3 separate regions of the Homo sapiens genome follow, and regions 2 and 3 are each linked to region 1. The links are contacts of gene promoters, found by promoter capture Hi-C in blood cells and fetal thymus (Javierre and others, 2016). All regions are on one chromosome and are shown on one strand. The core of a region is centred on a gene start or on the middle of the fragment in contact, and the rest is flanking DNA. Distances in the headings are between cores, read along the strand shown. Region 1 holds the start of CDH10 (cadherin 10). Region 2 has its middle 330 kb from the start of CDH9. Region 3 has its middle 350 kb from the start of CDH9.

Region 1 (2,903 bases), core at 265-2,764:
ATACACACAAATATACGTATCAGAGGTAAAAAACTGAATATCTATTTTCACTTGACTCTGAAATTAAGGCACCCTGTCGAAGAAAACATACAAAACATAACAAAAACTATGGGCAAATGATACGGTGATAATTCAGAATTCTAGCTCTATTATTATCAAACTTTAGAGGGGCCATAAAATTTTCCTGATCTTAATGCCATCGTCTGTAAAATTAAGAGTTTCAAAAGTCCATTTCTGCTCTAAATGTCATTTAGCTGTTCAGCTCAGTGGAAATGTTTGGTGTTTTCAAATATAAAACTAATTGGTAAAATTCATCATATAATAACACTGTGATACATTAAAACCTTTTTGGAATCTAATTTTGAATCTCCCTCTCACTTCTTTTTTGCCCCTCAGATTGAGTTTCTTCCTTTTTCATTGTGCTGATTATGTAAGGGGCCTGTTGACTGTTAGAATGATCAAACAGGTACAGAGGAGGCAGTATGGCAACCGGAAACAATACTAAACTGGAAGTAGGAGTGTGGTATTACAGCTTTGACCCCGCCTCCAGTTAGTCCTGTGACAATTTAACATTCTGAGCATTTTTATCTGCTAAAGAAATAATAATAATAACAGCCCAAAATGATCTTCGTAATTTCTCCTCTAGCTTTAAAACTATAATTGACATATATGTATTTATATGCATATATGTATGTATATGTGTATATAATTTATTTATGGATGGCACTTTAAAAGGAATCTACCTGTAGCCGGAAAAATGCAAAGATGTTAATTACTTTGTGGAGCTATACTGACATCCTTTGGTAAGGTTTGGTTGATTGCAATTTGATGTGGAGATTGATAAATAGCGAGACAGTTAGATGTTTAAGTAGATAGAACAATCCAAATGTATTTACATCTGTCCACACACTCATTTGGGTATGAAACCCGTATTTATGAGAAAAAACAACGTTAAAAAGAAAAAAAAGGAGACTGTGTCAAGTTCAAAGTCTAAATATTTTAATAACACTAATTACATATTTACATTTTTAATAAAATATTTTATCTATAAAGTATTAAAATGCAAAGATTAGGCAGAGAAGACTGGCTCGCGGACATTCCAAAATGATGAGCGAGGTATGCACTCCTGTGACAATAAGCAACAAGAGAAGGGATTTGGAAAATCAAGCCGAGAAAGTTCCCTGAAAGCAAAAAATAAACATTTAAAATCACAACGAAAAATCACTCTGGTAACATATCAAATCTGGTTGCAATTTGACTTGGCGCTCTGATAATACTTGGATTTCGGTAGTCTGGTGTAAGGACGGTGCAGGAATATATATTCCAGAAGAACTATCTTTTTTTAAAAAAAATTGCAAGAAGCAGTCCTGTTCCTGAGATTGTATTACGGACACAGGCGGATTAGATTGGGCTGATTACCTTAGCCTTGAAACAGAGAGTCTTTCTGCCCTGCGGGGGAGGGGACGCCTTTCAAGCAAAGCCCTCCTCTCGGATGCGCCCTCCCCTCGCATTCACTTGCAAATCGCTGTGTGCTCGCAGAAGCCAGCACTTCCACAGTCTCTAACCTTCCCATGGCGAGTGCTGCAGCTCTATCAGCAGAACCTTTCTCTCCGTGTGAGGAAGAGCTTTTTTCCCCCCTTTCCTTTTTTTTTTTTTTCCTTTCCCCTTAATCAGAAGCACTGAATGAAAGCCAATCAGAGAGAGCTCGCCCCCGTTTTCTTCGGTTCCCTGCTGTCCAGAGTTAAAAGTGATGCTGAGAAAGAGCTTGAGTTAGATTGAAGTAGAATCAGTGATAGAAAATAACAGCCGAAAACAAACAAAAAGGGGACATAGTGACAATTTCTCCTGGGTTATTTTGGCTGGAACCAACTTCCATTATCCAGAAGCTGATAAAAAAGGTAGGAAGACTTCACCTCTTTCTTTTAACTCCGTTAAGGTATTATATATTCCTCCACTTGAGGGGTGGGGGGGGAGAGGGAGGAGATAAATGTTTGTTTTTAAGTTGTGTTTAGCAATTATTTCAAAATAATTATCTTTAATACTTAAATAAGCATACAACTCTATATATTTAATTCTAGAAACAACTGCTTCGAATATCTATATAGGCAATGTAAAGCTGGATAAATTATATATTATGCTCAACAGTGGGTCATGATATTAGAGTTTGTGAATTCATTCACTTGGAACAAATGCTAAAAAATATGTTATGAAGTGAATTTGTCATGCCCAGACTTGTTCATTTTTATTTTAAAAATCAGTTCAAGAGATAACATTGTTACTGTGAACTCTAACATCATCTAACATTACTTTGCATTCCATATGAATGGATTCACTCTGCACTTATTCGTAGTCATAGTTCATTGTACGTTCAATATAAACAGAAATGACAGGCAGAAGACAGATTCCTTGAAACTGTCAATGGTCACTAAGCATCTACATAAATACAATAGATTGACATTCATCAGAAATAGAATAGGCAGAATTCTTATTTTCAATTTTATATCTGAGTCAGAAGTATTGGGGGGAGAGAGGTAAAGAGAGGGAGAGTAAATGCATGTAGTCAGCAGTTGCAGCATTTATTGTTTCTGCTGCAATAAAATCCATATTTTATGTGTTGTTAAATTAATGCAGCATATTGCAAGTATAAATGCATGTCCCCAACAAGTAACTATTGATAGCACTGTAACTATGGGCAAAAGCAGTAGTCTGAAATTGTTTTTATGCCACTAAAATAAAAACCTACTGTCTCCTTATTATGAAAAAAGGGGAGTCTACAGGTACAAAGACAAATATTGTTTTAAAAATGACCTATCATCTTTTGCTTTGAAAAAACAGATGTTTCCTATAATTGTGGTCCTTCATTCCTTCATTCCAGTGAAAGCTTCTATTATCCAAAACTGCAC
Region 2 (2,903 bases), core at 227-2,726, 2.1 Mb before region 1:
TAGAGGCAGGTATGAGAGCCAAGCAAAAGGGGTTACTCCTTACAAAACCAGCAGATCTCATCAGACTTATTCTCTACCATGGGAATAATATGGGGAAAACTGTCCCCATGATTCAATTATCTCCCAGTGTGTCCCTCTCACAAAATGTAGAAAATATGGGAGTTTAAATTCAATATGAGATTTGGGTGGGGACACAGCCAAACCACATAAGTTAGTATATAGAAACACTATTTATTTTGCATATTTTTATTCTGCAACTTTGCTGAATTTGCGTATCAGTTCTAATAGTTTTTTAATGTGATGTTTATAATGTTCTCTATATAAGATCATGTTGTCAGAACATGGACAATTTTGCTTCTTCCTTTCCTATTTGAATGCCTTTTATTTATTTCTCTTGCCTAATTTTTGTGCCTGTGATATTTAGTACTGTATTGAATAGAAGTGTTCAGAGAGGTTATCCTTGCCTTATTTCTCATCTTAGAGATAAAGCTTTCACCTTTTTACCAAAGAGTATGATATTAGCTGTGGGCTTGTTATGCATAGCCTTTGTTTTGTTGAGGTACATTCGTTCTGTGCCTAATGTTTGAGAGGTTTTACCATGAAAGGATGTTAGATTTTGTCAAATAATTTTCCTGAATTGATAATGATGACCATATGCTTTTTGTTTTTCATTCTGTTAATTTGATGTATGATGTTTATAGATTTGTATATGTAAAAATATCCTTGCACCCCATGGATATATCCCACTTTGTAGTGGTGAATGAACGTTTAAATATGCTGTTGAATTCAGTTTGCTACCATTTTGTTGAGGATTTTTGCATCTATGGTCATTAGGAAAATTGGTATCATTTTATTTTTTTATTTACAGTGTCCTTGTATGGCTTTTGTGTCAGGATAAAAAAGAAAAACTTTAAAATGATTGAAGTAATTTTATGACAACATTTTAAAAGGCTTTGAAAATAATTTTGTACTTGATTTTGAAAAAAAATGCCTGAGTTGTTGGAAATATTTCATTAATTAATTATATTCAATGCAATATTTATGATATTATTTAACTCATATTTTGATTATTTGTATGTATTTCACCTTCATGCTGAAAAAGAAACTTTGGCATCCTTTGCATTCTTTACCTTTTTTCCAAAGTCTCTAAAGACTGGTATTATTTCCCCACTTATTTGTGTCCATTATATGAACAGAACTATTTACTAAATTTGTTTTTCTGATACTGAATTGTAAAGAACAAAGAAAATACAGTGTAACTATTTTTAATATCACCATCCTACTGTATCAAAGATTTCAGAATAGTATAACCTGTTGTTTTTACTGTGGTTAGCCAGTCTATTACAACATTGCCAAATGGAATTTGGTGCTATTTATCTAAATGATACATATTCAACCTTTATTTCCACAGAAATCAAAAGCATACATTGCATATTAAATTTCTGAAATAATGAGAATTATTTTGTAATCTTTCGACATTGAAATATTTATTCTATAAAAGTTTAATAATACGTTATAAGTGTGCATTCTCTCTCCCTCTCTCTCTCCCTCCCTCTAGTCATACATCTTAACAGCAGTGATACATTCTAAGAAATGGATTGTTAGGTGATTTTGTCATTGTGCGAACATCACAGAATGACGATGGTATAGACTAGCTGGTATAGTCCACTACACACCTAAGGTATATGGTACGGACTATTGCTTCTAAGCTACAAACCTGTATAGCATGTTACTTTAATAAATTGTGAAACAATTGTAAGCATGTGTGAATCCAAGCATATCTAAATATTGAAAAGGTACAGTCAAATATGGTATGAAAGATAAAAAATAGTACATTTATATAGGAAACTTACCACTAATGGAGCTTGCAGTACAGGCAGTTGCTCTGGGTGTCAGTAAGAGGTTGGTGAATGTGAAGTCCTAGGAAATTATTGTAACTATTGTAGACTTTATAAACACAGTACACTTAGGCTACAGTAAATTTTAGAAAAAATATATTTTTCTTAATAATAAATTAACCTTTACTTACTGTGAAATTTTACTTTATAAACTTTTCGATTTTATTTTAACTTCTTTTTTTTTTGAGACAGAGTCTCACTCTATCCCCCAGGCTGGAGTGCAGTGGTGCATCTGGGGTCACCGTGACCTCTGCCTCCTGGGGTCAAGTGATTCTCCTGCTTCAGCCTCCTCGGTAGCTGGGATTACAGGAGCCTGTCACTATGCCCAGCTAATTGTTTGTATGCTTAGTAGAGACAAGGTTTCGCCATGTTGGCCAGGCTGGTCTTGAACTCCTGACCTCAGGTAATATGCCCGCCTCGGCCTCTCAAAGTGCTGAGATTACAGGCGTGTGCCACCATGCTCAGCCTATTTTAACCTTTTAATTCTTGTAATAACACAGTTTAAAACACAAACACGTTTTACAACCGTACAAAAACATTTTTATATCCTTATTCTATAAGCTTTTTGTCTATTTTTAATTTTTTAAAGAGATTTTTACTTTGTAAACTTTTTGGTTAAAAGCTAAGACACAAACACACACATTAGCTTAAGCCTATATGGAATTAGAACTATCAATATCGCTGCCTTCCCCCTCTCCCTCTTGTCCCACTGGAAGGTCTTCAGGAGCAATAATACGTATGGCACCGTCATCACCAATGATAACAACGCTTGGCCGGGCCCAGTGGTTCACGCCTGTGATCCCAGCACTTTGGGAGGCCAAGGTGGGTGGATCACGAGGTCAGGAGATCAAGACCACCCTGGCTAACACAGTGAAATCCCGCCTCTACTAAAAATACAAAAAATTAGCCAGGCGTGGTGGCAGGCGCCTGTAGTCCCAGCTACTTGGGAGGCTGAGGGAGGAGAATGGCGTGAACCCGGGAGGCGGAGCTTGCAGTGAGCCGAGA
Region 3 (2,903 bases), core at 248-2,747, 2.0 Mb before region 1:
TAACGGAATATTATTCCAGCTCAGTTATCAACAAAAAAATCCGTTGATTTTGACTTATGCTTCCATAACTATAACATTTTATGTTACAGCATATATTCGATTTCACAAATTCAGTATCAATGGCTTTTACTACTGGCAATTGGTCATGGATATCATGATATGAAATATTTCAGTTGTGCAAAATCAAACCAGTTTTCTGTTGAAGAAAGATAACTAAACCTTGAGCATTGCCTTTTCATCTTAATACGGCATTGATGTCCTTGACTCGTCAACTATATTCATTTATTACAAAACTGTAGGATATTACATGAGAGTCATTAAATTCACTAAGAAACAACAAAGTTTTGTTTTTAAGCATCTCAATTATTAAAAATTTCCAGTAAACATGAGTAGAAAGCAATCAGAGCTCCATGTATGAACTGCCAAAATTTTAGGTATATTTCTATTCAAATATTGTAACATCTTGTTTCTTCTATTCTGGTATCAAGTGTTTCTAGATACCCTCAAATCCATAAAAAGTCATTTTGGGACTGGCACGATGGCTCACGCCTGTAATCCCAGCACTTTGCGGGGCTGAGGAGTGCGGATCACCTGAGGTCAGGAGTTCAAGACCAGCTTAGCCAACATGGTGAAACCCTGCGCCTACTAAAAACACAAAATTAGCCAGTTGTGATGGCAGATGCCTGTAATCCCAGCTACTTGGGAGGCTGAGACAGGAGAATCATTTGAACCTGGGAGGTGGAGGCTGCAGTGAACCGAGATTACACCACTGCACTCTAGCCTGGGCAACAGAGCAATACTCCATTTAAAATAAAAAATAAAAATAAAAAATACAGTAAAAGCCATTTTGCTTTACTAAACTTATCTCTGTTTACCCATATTCTTGTCTCAGTTTCCTGATGACTCAACCAAGCTTTCTTCTGGCAACTGGAAAATAAAGGAAATTGTGTTAGGAGCTTGAAAACATTCCTACTTTTGACAGATTTTCTTTAGGATTTAAGAATCAAAATTTTTGCCTTTAGCTTTTGACTGGTTTCTTATTTAAAAATGGGCTGATCATAGAACCACCAGAAATATAGATCACAGATTAGTTTTCCCTCCAAGGCCGAAATTCAATCCATTTTTTTTCTCCTCATCAGATTTCTCCTCTACATAACTGCTCCCAACATGTATCAACTCATCTTCCTCTCAGATGTTATCTCAGTAGCCTTGTCATCAGGTAATCTTATGTAACATATGATATAATTGCTTAAAATTAACAAAACATCTTTAGCAAAGCTTTCATAATCTGCTCCAAGCTGAATTTTCCAGCTTAAACTTTATGTTGTTCTCTTTGCCCTTTTCTTCTACCATTTTCTTTTTAGGCAATAAGACTCATCAAACCTTCAAAACATAATTCAAATTTTGCCCCTACTGAAGGGCATTCCATGTTGATTGTTGATTTCAACACTGGGACCATCAGTAGTCAGCCATTCTCAGTGAACTCATCTCTGTGTAATAATCAAGATTTTCTGTTAAGGCCCTTTTATTATTCTGTGCTTGTTTTACTTCTAAATACACATAAACGTACACAAAATAAAACAGTGGGAATTTTTAAGAAAAATTATCACTCCTAACATGGTAAGTAGATAAAGTTTACTGAGTATTTTTTTTTTCTTGACTTGGACAATATATTTTTGACCACTTTACAAAGAAATATACTGATATAAAGCTTATTTTCTGCTGTTTGTAAGTAATCCCAGTTCAGTTGGTAAATCCACATTAAAAATACTTCTCTGGAAGTAAAGGCCTCATAGTCAGTAATGTGCTGGATGGATTCTTATTTGGATCGTTTTTCTATAATGGTCTGAAGTATTTCTACTTTAAATCAAAGTTTTATAACTTTTTTGTCTCTGGTTTGAGTTGTAAATCTCATTTCTTCTGCTACGTTTTACACTTGCCAATGTTGCTGAGGCCAGTATCTAAAGGAAGCCTTTCATCATCATTTAAATGTGTTCACATGTGAGATCTAGAGATCCCCTGTCTCAGTTGAGTCTCACTAACTCATCAGAACTAAAGCCATGAAATGCAAGTTAAATCAACAAAAAGATTTTCAAAAGCAAAATCAATATATCATTTATGTGTAATTTTTAGTTGAAAATTCAGAAAACAAGTATTTATTTTTCATAGCTTGGTTAGCATTTAAAAATGTACAACTTTTAAAAAAATGTAACAGCTTAAAACAATGCAAATTTATATCAACTGTTCTCATGGCCGAGTGGTTGGGCATAACCTAACTGGGTCCTCAGCTCAAGGTCACACTAGGCGTTTGTTCAGTGTGCTCTATTCTTATCTGCAAGCTTGTTCAGAGAATATTCTACCTCCAGCATCATGTAGGTGGTTAGTAGCTTTCATTTGCTTGCAGCCCTGTGCTGAGGGCCCTGGCTTCTTACTGGTTATTGGCTGGAGACTGCTCAGCTTCTAGAGGCTGACACCCTTTGTCTGAAGTTCTCTGAAGCTTTGCAACATGGCAGCTCACGTTTTCAAAATGAGTAGGAGAATCTTCCTATCTTTAGGAAGACCCTATCCCTCCTTAAAAGGTTTTATACTCCAGAATAATATCCTGCTTGTTATCCTGTGCATCAGTTGACATAAGTGAACTGATTTGGGATTTTCATTATATCTGCAAAATCCTTTCAACTTTATCACATAAAGTAACCTTATCACTGGAAGGTCATTTCATTGTATTTGTAGGTCTTACCACACTCCAGGGGCAAGTATATATCCTGGGGATCATCTTAGAATTCTGCCTAGAACAGATGATTTAAAATATTTAAACTAATTAACATTATTGAAATTTAATGGTATGAGACCTGGGTTTTACTAGCTTTGCAAAAGTATTCATGTAGACCTACAGGCAGGAC

Evidence for each region. Contacts are between HindIII fragments. The CHiCAGO score rates a contact against its expected background, and 5 or more counts as called.
Region 2: a contact is called between a fragment that was not itself captured here and the fragment with the promoter of CDH10 in region 1, in 1 of 17 cell types (M2 macrophages). The highest score is 6.1, in M2 macrophages.
Region 3: a contact is called between a fragment that was not itself captured here and the fragment with the promoter of CDH10 in region 1, in 1 of 17 cell types (M2 macrophages). The highest score is 7.2, in M2 macrophages.

Annotation. Positions count from the first base shown.
Region 1 is chr5:24,643,589-24,646,491 of GRCh38, reverse strand. It overlaps CDH10 (cadherin 10), which reads left to right and starts at 1,514. Exons shown (of 12, transcript NM_006727.5): 1 at 1,514-1,898. LOC124901174 (a long non-coding RNA gene) reads right to left here and starts at 1,783. Exons shown (of 2, transcript XR_007059125.1): 1 at 1,420-1,783; 2 at 978-1,181. RefSeq lists an enhancer at 1,222-1,817. The HindIII fragment of the contact is 4,637 bases long and covers 1-2,883 here.
Region 2 is chr5:26,704,443-26,707,345 of GRCh38, reverse strand. No RefSeq gene overlaps it. Among named protein-coding and RNA genes, the nearest start is that of CDH9, 330 kb to the left of the region's middle. The HindIII fragment of the contact is 1,970 bases long and covers 492-2,461 here.
Region 3 is chr5:26,684,670-26,687,572 of GRCh38, reverse strand. No RefSeq gene overlaps it. Among named protein-coding and RNA genes, the nearest start is that of CDH9, 350 kb to the left of the region's middle. The HindIII fragment of the contact is 433 bases long and covers 1,281-1,713 here.